Linked DNA regions of Homo sapiens: region 1 is linked to region 2. Evidence: promoter capture Hi-C in human tissues and cell types (Jung and others, 2019). All regions are on one chromosome and are shown on one strand. Each heading gives the region's core, a stretch centred on a gene start or on the middle of the fragment in contact. The rest is flanking DNA. Distances are from core to core; before and after follow the strand shown. Region 1 has its middle 59 kb from the start of RBM47. Region 2 holds the start of NSUN7 (NOP2/Sun RNA methyltransferase family member 7).

The links. The method cuts DNA at HindIII sites, captures the fragments that hold promoters and counts their contacts. A contact is called where the count stands out against the background at its distance.
Region 1: a contact is called between a fragment that was not itself captured here and the fragment with the promoter of NSUN7 in region 2, in 1 of the 25 tissues and cell types used here (mesenchymal stem cells).

Annotation. Positions count from the first base shown.
Region 1 is chr4:40,685,789-40,692,325 of GRCh38, reverse strand. No RefSeq gene overlaps it. Among named protein-coding and RNA genes, the nearest start is that of RBM47, 59 kb to the right of the region's middle. RefSeq lists an enhancer at 5,135-5,184. The HindIII fragment of the contact is 3,467 bases long and covers 158-3,624 here.
Region 2 is chr4:40,747,623-40,753,931 of GRCh38, reverse strand. NSUN7 (NOP2/Sun RNA methyltransferase family member 7) reads right to left here and starts at 3,977. Exons shown (of 12, transcript NM_024677.6): 1 at 3,632-3,977; 2 at 2,941-3,329. The coding sequence starts at 3,238. The HindIII fragment of the contact is 15,367 bases long and covers 1-6,309 here.

The DNA of each region.
Region 1 (6,537 bases), core at 642-3,141, 60 kb after region 2:
CTGCTGCTCAGAACAAAAGATTCCTTTAGAAATATTAGTGCTCAATGACAATGTGCTTATTCACCCGAGATCTCTCATGGAGATGTACAAGGAGATTAATGTTTTCATGCCTGCTTACACAACTTTCATTCTGCAGCCTATGGATCAAGAGTAATTTCGACTTTCAAGTCCCATTATTTAAGAGATAGATCTCAGCAGGATGCAGTGCCTCATGCCTGTAATCCCAGCACTTTGGCAGGACGAGGCAGGTGGATCACTTGTGCCCATGAATTCCAGACCAGCCTTGAGCAACATGGTGAAACCTTGTCTCTACAATTAAAAAAAAAAATTAGTTAGGCATGGTGGCAAGTGCCTGCAGTCCCAGCTACTCGGGAGGCTGAGGTGGGAGGATCACTTGAGCCCAGGAGTTTGAGGCTGCAGAGAGCTGTGATTGCCACTGCACTCCAGCCTGCATGACAGAGCAAGGCCCTGACTAAAAAAAAAAAAAAACAAACGAAAGAAAGAAATGATCTCATAAGGGGCTGAAGCTTGCATCAATAGTGATTCCTCTGATAGATCTGGACAAAATAACTTCTATACGCACTGGGAAGCCAAAAAATTGATGTGGCTCACTTTATTGCAATATCAACTTTATTGTGGTGGTCTGGAACCAAACCCACAAAATCTCCAAGAATGCCTGTATTTTTTTGCTTGCTTAAAGTTTGTCTCTCCCTGATCGAGACCATCCCGGCTAAAACGGTGAAACCCCGTCTCTACTAAAAATACAAAAAATTAGCTGGGCGTAGTGGCGGGCGCCTGTAGTCCCAGCTAATCGGGAGGCTGAGGCAGGAGAATGGCGTGAACCCGGGAGGCGGAGCTTGCAGTGAGCCGAGATCCCGCCACTGCACTCCAGCCTGGGCGACAGAGCGAGACTCCGTCTCAAAAAAAAAAAAAAAAAAAAGTTTGTCTCTCCCCACTAGAATGTAAACTCCTCGGGGGCAGGGACTTTGATTTGTTCCCTACCGTATCCTAAGCACCTCTAGGTGTTCAATAATCATTTGAAGGAATGAACAGATGAATGAATGAATGGATGAATGAAAGGTGGACTTGATGACCTCTTAAACTCCTTCCCCAGCTCACCAGCTGTAGTTGGAGAACCAGAACCAGCACTTCATGTTCTGCTACCTTGTGCAAAAGCTTCCTGGCCCCTTCCTTCGGGGCAAGTTCCAAAAATTGTGGCCAATCTCTCCCATCTTCTACTTCTTTCCCCATCTTAAGTGTCTATAAGGAACTATGCCAACCCTTCATCCAGTAGCAACTTTTCCAGTGCCAGCTACCTTCTCCCCAACTCCTGTGTTTTACCAGATGAGAAAGCAGGCCAGGGCAGCTGGGAGCCACTGGGGCTGGATTGGGAGCAACATTTGGTTGCTGTTGTCCAATTGCAGTGCACTGGAACTCCTCCAAGGACACAACAGAGAAGCTGCTGCCAGGTCTCCCCAAAGGCTGCATAGACTTCATCCCCACCATACAATGCCAGTCCTGTTGATAAATACAATGCCAGTCCTGTTGATAAATGCCCCTATATTGGTTGTAGCACAGAGGTGCAAACTACATTGAACACACCTGGTAAGTTACTTACTGTGTTTTTTTTTAGAGGGGGAAGCAGGCAAATGAGATTTTTAGTCTGTCTCAAAACATCAATATCTTCTTTTTGCAGGGAGAAAGTGCTGGGGAGGGGGAAGCAAAATATACAGAAAAGAGAGTGGATTAGGCACCAGAAGGTCTGGATTTGAATCCCAGTTTGTGAGTTGGTGTGTGCCACAGCCTTGGGCAAATCTCTTCCGTCTTCAGTTTCCCATCTGTAAGTAGAGATTAGAATTCCTGATCTGCTGGCCTTTCACGGATGTTGTAGGGATCATAAGATGATAATAGCTGCATACTTTGTGAACTATACAATACTATTCCTACATGGAGATTTTTATGAATAGAACCATAGTGGTGGCATCTCTCAAATGCCTGATGAAATGAAAGCATGATCTCTCTTCACCCAGTAATGAAAGTTCAACAGAGGTGAGGAAAGGAATCACTATACATTTTTAAATTTCGTATTTCTTTTTTTTCTTTTTTCAGAGTTGAGGTCTCACTCTGTCATCCAGGTTAGAGTGCAGTGGCATGATCACTGCAGCCTTGACCTCCTGAGCTCAAGCAATCCTGCCACCTCAGCCTCCCTACTAGTGGAGACTGCAGGTGTGAGCCACCAGGCCAGCTGGACTTTGCATTTCTATGGAAAATGACCTTTAGTCATTTATATTAAGTTAATAACAAAAAAATGGATTCATGCAGACATGGTGACTATTCGAAATTATGGCTCTGAAAAGAATTGACTTTTTTTTTGTTTGTTTGTTTTTGCAAAGAGTGGGTTTTGCCATGTTGCCCAGGATAGTCTCAAATGCCTGACCTCAAGTGATCCACTGCCTCACCCTCCCAAAGTGTTGGGATTACAGTTGTGGGCCACCTTTTTAAAGAATTTTCTTTAAAAAGAAAAAAGATTGCTTTGATTTTGTGTGTATGTGTATGTGTGTGTGCGCGCTCATTTGAAATAAGTGTTCATCCAGAAATGCTTTAAAAATATATTGCACATAGCTGAGCGCGGTGGCTCACACCTGTAATCTCAGCACTTTGGGAGGCTGAGGCGGGTGGATCACATGAGGTCGGGAGTTCGAGACCAGCCTGACCAACATGGAGAAACCCCATCTCCACTAAAAATACAAAATTAGCTGAGCATGGTGGTGCATGCCTGTAATCCCAACTACTTGGGAGGCTGAGGCAGGAGAATCACTTGAACCCGGGAGTCAGAGGTTGTGGTGAGCCGAGATCGTGCCATTGCACTCCAGCCTGGGCAACCAGAGCAAAACTCCGTCTCAAAAAAAAAAAAAAAAATATATATATATATATATATATATATATATTCCAGATAATCTTAACCTAAGCAAATAATTTAATTAAGATTGACATTTTAGGCTGAGCGCAGTAGCTCACGCCTGTAGTCCCAGCACTTTGGGAGTCCGAGGCAGGCAGATCGCTTGAGCTCAGGAGTTTGATACTAGCCTGAGCAACATGGCAAAACCCCATCTTTACAAAAAATACAAAAATTAGCCATGCATGGTGGCATACACCTGTGGTTCCAGCTATTTGGGAGGCTGAGGTGGGAGTATGGCTTGAGCCTGGGAGGCAGAGATTGCAGTGAGCAGAGATTGTGGCACTTGAACGGCCTGGGTGACAGAGCGAGACCCTGCCTCAAAAAAAAAAAAAAATTCAGAAATTAAAAAAAAAGATTGTCATGTTAGAGTACAATGTTATGAAAGAAAATGTCATCATGCTTGTTGAAGAGTATGAGCAAGACAGTACCCTAGTGTTCATTTGTCATTTGCAAGCATGACTTTACTGTGTATATCCAGAGAAATGGTGAGAATCGTTTACTGTTTATACGGGGAAGAGTAGGTGGGCATAGGTAAAATCTCAAATAAAAACCCTACAGTGAGTAGAATTAAATTATCTATATGTCTCTTCCCCACATTAAAAAGACTTGAGACTTATCAAAGAAAAAATCTAAAATTGCCTTGGGTGGTTGATTCTGAGAATGAGTCAGGTAAACCTGGTGTGCTGTGTGACACTGTAATGAAGTCTTCTGACTGCACTCCAATGTTCAGTTTCCAAAGCGTTTCCATCCAGCTTAGAACTGAGCCATGGCCTTGGCAACTTTATTCACGTACTTTGTGACTCAGTAGTTCCTTCTGCAGGATGTGAATGGAAAAGAGGGTGGACTCCTGCCTACAACATAGGCCTTGGTTACAGTATCCCTTTTGGTTAGCAGAGTTGATGAAACTAATTCAGTTGAAAGTAAATTGCTAAAATAAGAGCTTGAATTTGTCTGTGAATTTCAGATGTTTGTGTTATCCCTACCTACATAGCATGGAACTCCAACATGGTACTCCCCACCTAAACTGGCATGGCTGCAAGGATTTCTGAGAAATGAAGGGAGGTATGGATTTCTCCTGTTTTGCCAGTTAATGTTTGCCCACATTGGGAGGGGACCAGTGTGTATCTGGTAGTTCTGCCTGTGTCATTTGAGGTCATCATTTTGTCCTCTCAGGAGCTGAAAACACCACCCTTTAAACCTTCACCTTGACTCCTGGTTGCTCATACGTTTGGCAGCCTAGAGACCCATTTCCTTTCACGCATGTTTTAATCATGCAATACATGAAGCCTGGGAAATAAAATTTCCACATTATATAAATTGCAGTAATCAACTCTTGACAGATTTCTGCAAAATGTTTGTCGATAGCTTCCTTCAATGTCCTGAGACATTTTACAAAGAATCATTGTCAATGTTTCAGAGTGAAAGAAAAATGAGATAGTTATCTACATGATTGCTCCATTCTACTATTGCATGTGCTTGGACACCAACCAGATTTCTAACAGGGTTTAAAATGTCAGCCAGAATGTACTGAATCTATAGTAGAGGCTAAGATTAAATTTCCTTTGGTTTACTTAGATAAGCTGAGTTTGGGGTTAGTTTGGAAGGAAGGAGGGAGGAGTCACTGGTTTTAATAATATAATTCACTACCCTTTAATAAATCTGGTCTTACTTTCCCCTTTAGTCTGTTCCTTTCTGTGCTTTTTATCATAACCAAAGAGTTGGGTAATATTCTTTTTTTTTTTTTTTTTTTTTTTTTTTTTTTTTTTGAGACGGAGTTTTCCTCTTGTTGCCCAGGCTGGAGTGCAATGGCGCGATCTCGGCTCACCACAACCTCCGCCTCCCAGGTTCAAGCAATTCTCCTGCCTCACCCTCCCTAGTAGCTGGGATTACAGGCATGTGCCACCATGCCTGGCTAATTTTGTTTTTTTTTTTTAGTAGAGATGGGGTTTCTCCATGTTGGTCAGGCTGGTCTCGAACTCCCGACCTCAGGTGATCCACCCTCCTTGGCCTCCCAAAGTGCTGGGATTACAGGCGTGAGCCACTGTGCCTGGCCAGAGTTGGGTAATATTCAAATCTATAAATGGCATCTTCTTTGAAGAAGTTATTTAAATCAAAAAAAAAAAAAAAGGCTGGGCACAGTGGCTCACGCCTGTAATCCCAGCACTTTGGAAGGCCAAGGAGGGTGGATCACCTTAGGTCAGGAGATCAAGACCATCTTGGCCAGCATGGTGAAACCCCGTCTCTACTAAAAATGCAAAAATTAGCCGGGTGTGGTGGCTCATGCCTGGAGTCCCAGCTACTCGTGAGGCTAAGGCACGAGAATTGCTTGAACCTGGGAGGCAGAGGTTGCAGTGAGCCGAGATCATACCACTGCACTCCAGCCTAGGCAACAGAGAGTGAGATTCAGTCTCAAAACAAACAAACTAAAACAAACAAACAAAACTTAGCCAGGTGTGGTAGCAGGCACCTGTAATCCCAGCTACTCAGGAGGCTGGGGCAGGAGAATCACTTGAACCCAGGAAGCAGAGGTTGCAGTGAGCAGAGATTGCACCACTGCATTCCAGCCTGGGCGATAGAGCGAGACTCTGTCAAAACAAAAACAAAAATAAAAACGAAAATAAAAACAAAACCCACAAACTACCATGAAACGAAATTAGCCATTGAATCACATACATTTCTCTATCCCATGAGAAAATAAAAATGGAGCAACTCAAGCAATCCCTTCATACTCTCCCTAAATTAAACAAAGATGTAGAGTTCCCCACTGAAAATGAATTTGCTCAAATCAGACCTGAAGAGCATTACTTTGTTTGAAATTCAAACAGACACAGATGTTTTCTGTTTGATGAAAACAATTTCTACTCTTAAATTGCAAACAGGCTGGGCGTGCCGGCTCATGCCTGTAATCCCAACACTTTGGGAGGCCAAGGTGGGAGGATCGCTTGAGGCCAGGCCAGCCTGGGCAATATAAAGACACCCTGTGTCAAAAAAAAAAAAAAAAAAGAAGAAGAAGGTTGAAAACAGATATGCTAAGTTCACATGTCACTTTTGGGCCTCTTTGAGTATGCCTGGAAATGCTCCAGATTCAGCCCAGCCTGGCAACCAGCACAAGCTTTGGGGACATTTCTTGGGCACTGTCTATGGGGAAAGGTCTCAGATCTCTCTGCACCTGTCTTCCTGCTGATATTGGCAAAGCAGAGCCATGTTACTGAAGCTCTATGACTCTTTTTTTCTTTTTAAACAATGGCTGTTGGCAATATCTGGGCTCCCTTGTCTTCTGCCACGGAGATTTTCTTAGTGTCCAGGAGCTGCCAGTGGTCACTGGCCCAGCTTCTCTCCCTCCGCATAGGATCCTGGATTGAAATCCTGCTGACAAGAAGTTCATGTCTTCAGGTCAGGGTAAAGAATCACCATGCTTGTGTGCTTTTTAAAAAAATTTCTTTGGCCAGGTGTGGTGGCTCACGCCTGTAATCCCAGCACTTTGGGAGGCCGAGGCGGGCGGATCACCTGAGGTCAGGAGTTTGAGACCAACCTGACCAACACGGAGAAACCCCGTCTCTACTAAAAATACAAAAAAT
Region 2 (6,309 bases), core at 2,728-5,227:
AATCATGGCGGAAGGTGAAAGGCACATCTCACATGGCGGCAGACAAGGGAAGAGAGCTTGTGCAGGGAAACTCCCCCTTATAGAACCATCAGATCTCATGACACTTATTAACTATCATGAGAACAAGTACAAGAAAGACCTGTCCCCATGATTCCATTACCTCCCGCCAGGTCCCTCTCACAATACGTGGGAATTCAAGATGAGATTTGGGTGGGGACACAGCCAAACCATATCAACGTATTATTATAAGAAAAAATATATTTAACAAGTAAACAATACCATCTTACCTTATAATTTGAACTTATAAAAACGAACGTTTCAAGAAAAGAAGTTTCATAAAGGTTTATGACAATTTATTTGAATGGGATTTTCTGTGTCATTAAGAAAGATCACAGCACTTTGGGAGGCCAAGGCAGGTGGATCACGAGGTCAGGAGTTCAAGACCAGCCTGGGCAAGATGGTGAAGCCCCATCTCTACTAAAAATAAAAAATTAGCCAGGCGTGGTGGCAGGTGCCACTTGGGAGCTACTTGGGAGACTGGGGCAGAGAAGTGCTTGAACCTGGGTGGCAGAGGTTGCAGTGAGCCTAGATTGTGCCATTGCACTCCAGCCTGGGTGACAGAGTGAGACTCTGTCTAAAAAAAAAAAAAAAGAAAGATAAAATAATTACAAGATCTTTCATAAAATAGAAAATAGGAGGGAGAGGACAAAAATAATAATCTATCACACATATCACTGTAATACAATCATTTAGTTAATGCATTAATTTTATATAGAATTATAATTCAGGCTTTTCTTATTGAGTACTAAAGGTAATACTCAATATTCCATTAGGAGAACAAATTGCCTAGAATAAAATTCTAGCATTAACATTAAATGCCAATTAATCAACACAGCTGCCCAGTCTGCATTTCACTGTTGCGAGAAAAAAAGTATAAAAATGTTCATTTGATTCATTGCATGAAATACAACACTTTGGTTAGGGGAGAGGGGAAGAAGATGGATGAAATAAAATCTCAGAGATTAAACTGGAGGAAGAATGGTTAAGACGGACTTAAAAGGAAAAGAAAAATTACTGAGGAGAAAACAAAGAAACAAAAAACAAAGAGACTCTCTGCAGACAACCAAAAATATATATTCCTGTCTAAATAATCAGTGAGACATTTTAATTCAACTGAGCATTTTTTTTTAATTTTAAAAAATAGAGATGGGGGGCCAGGTGCAGTGGCTCACGCCTGTAATCCCAGCACTTTGGGAGGCTGAGGTGGGTGGATCACAAAGTCAGGAGATGGAGACCATCCTGGCTAACACCGTGAAACCCCGTCTCTACTAAAAATACAAAAAATTAGCCAGGCATGGTGGCGTGCGCCTGTAGTCCCAGCTACTCAGGAGGCTGAGGCAGGAGAATGGCGTGAACCCAGGAGGCGGAGCTTGCAGTGAGCCAAGATTGTGCCACTGCACTTCAGCCTGGGCGACAGAGTGAGACTCCATCTCAAAAAAATAGAAAATAAAACTAAAAATAGAGATGGGGTCTTGCTATATTGTCCAGGTTTGTCTTGAACTCCTGAAGTCAAGCAATCGTCCCACCTCCACCTCCAAAAGTACTGGGATTACAAGTGTAAGCCACCGCATCTGGCTGAACTGAGTAATTAACTGCCTCCTACGAGCAAGGATGTACAAGGCTCATTAAGTACTAAGAAAATCATGCAAAAGAGTGTTGCCCTTTTTGAGGTGTCTCTTTAGGAAGGCTTCTGCTCATCATTTTGGCCATGCTGCTAATATTCTAAACATTTCTGGAACTTCTTTTTGGAACTACATTCAATCAGTTTACAAACCAACATAAAGTTTTTAGTCACAGCTAGTACGAAAACAAACAACTTCAAGCCTTTTGACTGCTCTCCTCATAGTAGCAATATTTGGTCATTTCCTAGTGTCAATTCCACAGGGTCTTGCTCTGTCACCAGGTTAGAGTGCAATGACACCATCTTGGCTCACTGCAACCTCTGCCTCCCAGGCTCAAGCGATCCTCCCGCCTCAATCTCCCAAGTATCTGGGACTAAAGACATGTGCCACCATACTGGGCTAATTTTTAAATTTTTTTTTGTAGAGAGGAGATCTCACTATATGCCCAGGCTGGTCTTTAACGCCTGAGCTCAATCAATCCTCCCACCTTGGCTTCGAAAAGTGCTGGGATTACAGGCCTGAGCAACCACCCTTGGCCTCAGATTGATAACTAACCATCCTTGAGTCTCAAACCCTGAAAGCAAATTAGAAAGGGAAGTTCTACTAAAGTTTGGCTCCTCCCATTAAAGCTAGTGGCTATGAATGGGATAGTCTTAATTGGGGTTGGTGTAATTTTGATATTCATTTTTTAAATTTTGCACCTTTTCTTTTTATTCCGTCTCTGTTCCTCTCCCCATCCTCCCTCACTGGTTTTATATTTGTGAAAGCTCATAAACTAAAATACCAAAAAAGGTAAACACAGGGAATGGAAAGAAATACACAGGGAGGCCAGGCGTGGTGGCTCACTGCCTGTAATCCCAGCACTTTGGGAAGCTGAAGAGGGAGGATTCCTTGAGGTCCAGAGTTTGAGACCAGCCCAGACAATAAAGCGAGACCCCTAAGTCTACGAGGGAAAAAAAAATACAGGGAGAGGGAAATGATCATTGGAATAAATTGTTTCCTTGTTGAATGTAATGACCGCGCACTACACCGATCTAAGGACAAACACAGTGCACGGGGAAATCTGCAATCCTGGGCTGGAAGAGCTAGTTTCATGGGAACCCTAATTCCTTGACACTTGCAATTAACCAAAGATATGCACATGCCTAAAACCAAAACCTGGTGTGAATGAGGGGAAGGGAGGAGGAGGGCTGCATTCCCCAAATTCTCTCGCTATTATTTTCTTTTAGTGTTGATCTTCCAGACTGGCACAACTCACATTTCAGGGCACTGAAAGCCAGCTCATAAGACAAACGCTGAAAGGACTGATCCTCAGACTCGGACAAGGACCGCAGGGGTTCATTCCCATACTTGATTAAGACTTTCTGTGCCGACTTTTCGATTCGAATACCCTGAAAAATGTTGGCTGCCATGACATAAACGGAGTCCGGATAGCCCGTTTTTTCGGGCACACCAGCTGAGCTTTTCCCACCGGACAGAGGCAGGGAAGTGAGTTGGGAGATGATCTCGGGATCTTCTTCGTTCGAAAACTCCAGTTCGCCCGTGGAATTCAGCATGTCTGCCCCTCGCCTGTCGTGAGTCCTTCACCCTGGGGTTAGAATTCCGATGTTCCAGGAAACGGCTTTCCTCGCATCTGCAGCATGGTCTCTGTGAAGAGAGAAGGTGATTGCAGTAAATCACTCTTTCTGCAGCACCCCTGTGGGTGGCCCCCTTCGTTGTGGCCTTAAAGACTAAGAGGGAGCATTTCCCGTCCCATCTGAGTGTCCCAGACTTCGAGCCTGGGACGCTCAAAAAAAAAAAAAAAAGCGAGGAGGGGTGCAGCGGCGGAGGGAGAAGAGCCCCAAGGAGACCGACGGCTTCCCTCAAGCCAGTCTGGGGGCAGAGCTGCCCCCGGAGCCCCGTCCGCGTCCCCACAGCCCAGTCACCGGCTCCCCCGACTCCTCCCTTACCCCGAGGGCGGATGGTTCCCGGGGCTTCGGGGACGAAGACGCGGAGGGCGGCGTCGGTCACAGGCCCTTGGGAGCCCCGGGACTGCGGGGCGACGGCTGCTGCCCGCGAAGGCCGTTTGGTTCAAATGCAGCCACTCCCACCGGCAGGATTCGGGGCAGGGGGGTCGCAGCCTCTGGCGCCCGGTTCGCTCCGGTGTCGTGAAGTGGTGGGCGCCTCGGGGCCTCGCCTGGCCTCGCGCGTGAGGCCTTCGCGGACGTGGCGGCGAAGAGGGGTGAGCGCGGTGCCCGGGGTCTGGCTGGCTCAGGCCGAGGAAAGCTCAGCCTCCCGAGTCTCCGGCAGTCGACTGCTCCCGGACCGGGTCTTCATGGCAACCGCGAGCGGAGGTGGGGCAGGGGGCGCGGCGCGAGGGCCGTTCCCGCGGGATTTGGCGGGTGCTACCTGTTGCCGGGAGAGTCGCTCTTCCCCCAGCGCGCGGAGACACCTGTTTCAGCCCCTCCGAGCCAGAGGCCTCTTGCACAGTTCCTGGACCTCACCGGGCCTGAGTGCGTGCCCTTGGCTTTGTTTATAAACATTTGGGGATATTTTTGAGGTAGTCTGACGTAGTTCCGTGGTTTTAACTCACAAGTTCCTGAAGTCCCTGTTAAAACTACACATTCTTTAAAATATTTTTAAAATATAGTAATAATTTTTTTTTTGAGACATGGTCTCGCTCTGTCGCCCAGGCTGGAGTGCAGTGGCGCAATCTCGGTTCACTGCAGCCTCCTCCTCCCGGGTTCACGTGATTCTCATGCCTCAGCCTCCCGAGTAGCTGGGACTACAGGCGCCCGCCACCACACCCTGCTAATTTTTGTATTTTTAGTAGAGACAGGGTTTCACCGTGTTGATCAAGTTAGTCTCGAACTCCTGACGTCAAGTGATCTGCCGGCCTTGGCCTCCCAACGTGCTGGGATTACATGCGTGAGCCACTGCGCCGTCTGTAATAATTTTTTTTAATAACAGAGACAGGGTTCCCATTATGTTGCCCAGGGTGGTCTCGAATTCCTGGGCTCAAGGAGTCCTCCCTCCTCGGCCTCCCAAAGTGCTGGGATTTCAGGCGTGAACCACCGCCTCCAGCTAAAAAAAAATCCTTGGAACCCATCCTAGAGATTTGAGTTGCTAAGACCCAGTAATTTGCATTTTTATCAGGTAACTGGCGATTCTGATGCAATCAGCCCAAAGACCACAGTTTGAAAAACTCTGGTATAGTTGAAAGACAACTGGTCCTAATTCCACCTCTGCCTTTCCTCCTTAGGGATTTGCCCTTCCTTCTTTAGGCTAAGGCCATTTCCATTTCCAGCCAGTGGTTAGTAGGATGAAGGGGAAAGAGAGGGCAGCCCATATTTTTCAATGACCTGAAAGGTGCACATATCACTTTGGCTCACATTTTATTGGTCAGAACTCAGTCATATACCCAGCAACCAAGAGGCTGGTAAATGTGTCCAGCTAAAAATAAGGGAACTATTACTGTAGAAGAAGGAGAGAATGGATAATGGGGAAAAAATTAGCAGTACAGAACTCTAACCCTGACCCCTTCTCTCAGAAATCCACCCACTTTCATTATCCCCGGAATACGTTAAACATTCCGTAACATTTTATGTATACATGCATTCATTCGTTCGTTTAACAAGTATATATTAAATTCTTGCTGTGTCCCTGGCATTGTGTTCAGCCCTACAAGTAAAATAATGAATGTATAGAAATGATCAGACACCTGACCGGGCGCGGTGGCTCACGCCTGTAACCCCAGCACTTTGGGAGGTCGAGGCGGGCGGATCACGAGGTCAGGAGATCGAGACCATCCTGGCTAACACGGTGAAACCCCGTCTCTACTAAAAATACAAAAAAATTAGCCGGGCGTGGTGGCGGGCGCCTGTAGTCCCAGCTACTCAGGAGGCTGAGGCCAGAGAATGGCATGAACCCGAGAGGCGGAGGTTGCAGTGAGCCGAAATTGGGCCACTGCACTGCAGCCTGGGTGACAGAGCCAGACTCCGTCTCAAAAAAAAAAGAAATGATCAAAGACCTTGCCCTCAAGAAATTAAAGATGGATATATTTGTATTTTGTCACCTTTTCATTTTTGTTATAAAGATTCGTGTACATACCTGCATTACCCCCCTTCTGCCATCTTTCTATCCACACAACACACACACTCTAAAATAGTCTTGTTTTATCTTTATCTTTTCATTTTTATTATATATCTTTTTTATTCCCAGATGCTAGCAAAATATCACTCTCTTTCACATACAGACATTCACAGAAGATTACAAATATGGAAGGTGTCTTAGAGGTCATGATATATTTTATCATGCATCACCCAGTACACAGTGATGTGAGGCAATAGCTAGCTATAAACTTTGAAATATTGTCATTCAAAATATAATTTGAAGAGTTTATTTTCTTTAATAATAGTTCAATGTAAGTAACAGTTTACTATATTGAAAACAAGGTTTAACGAGTCTCTATCCCCAAGGTAGAGCTTAGGCAAAGAGTTGTGGGGTTAGCAAATTCATGGTTACTATTTACTTTAATCATGTATATAATCCTGCCTCCTTACTTCTCACTCCTGGTTTATAGCCTCATTGTGGACTTAATGTATTTGAGGGGAGGGTCAGAGGAGAGCATATTAAATTTCAGTGAACA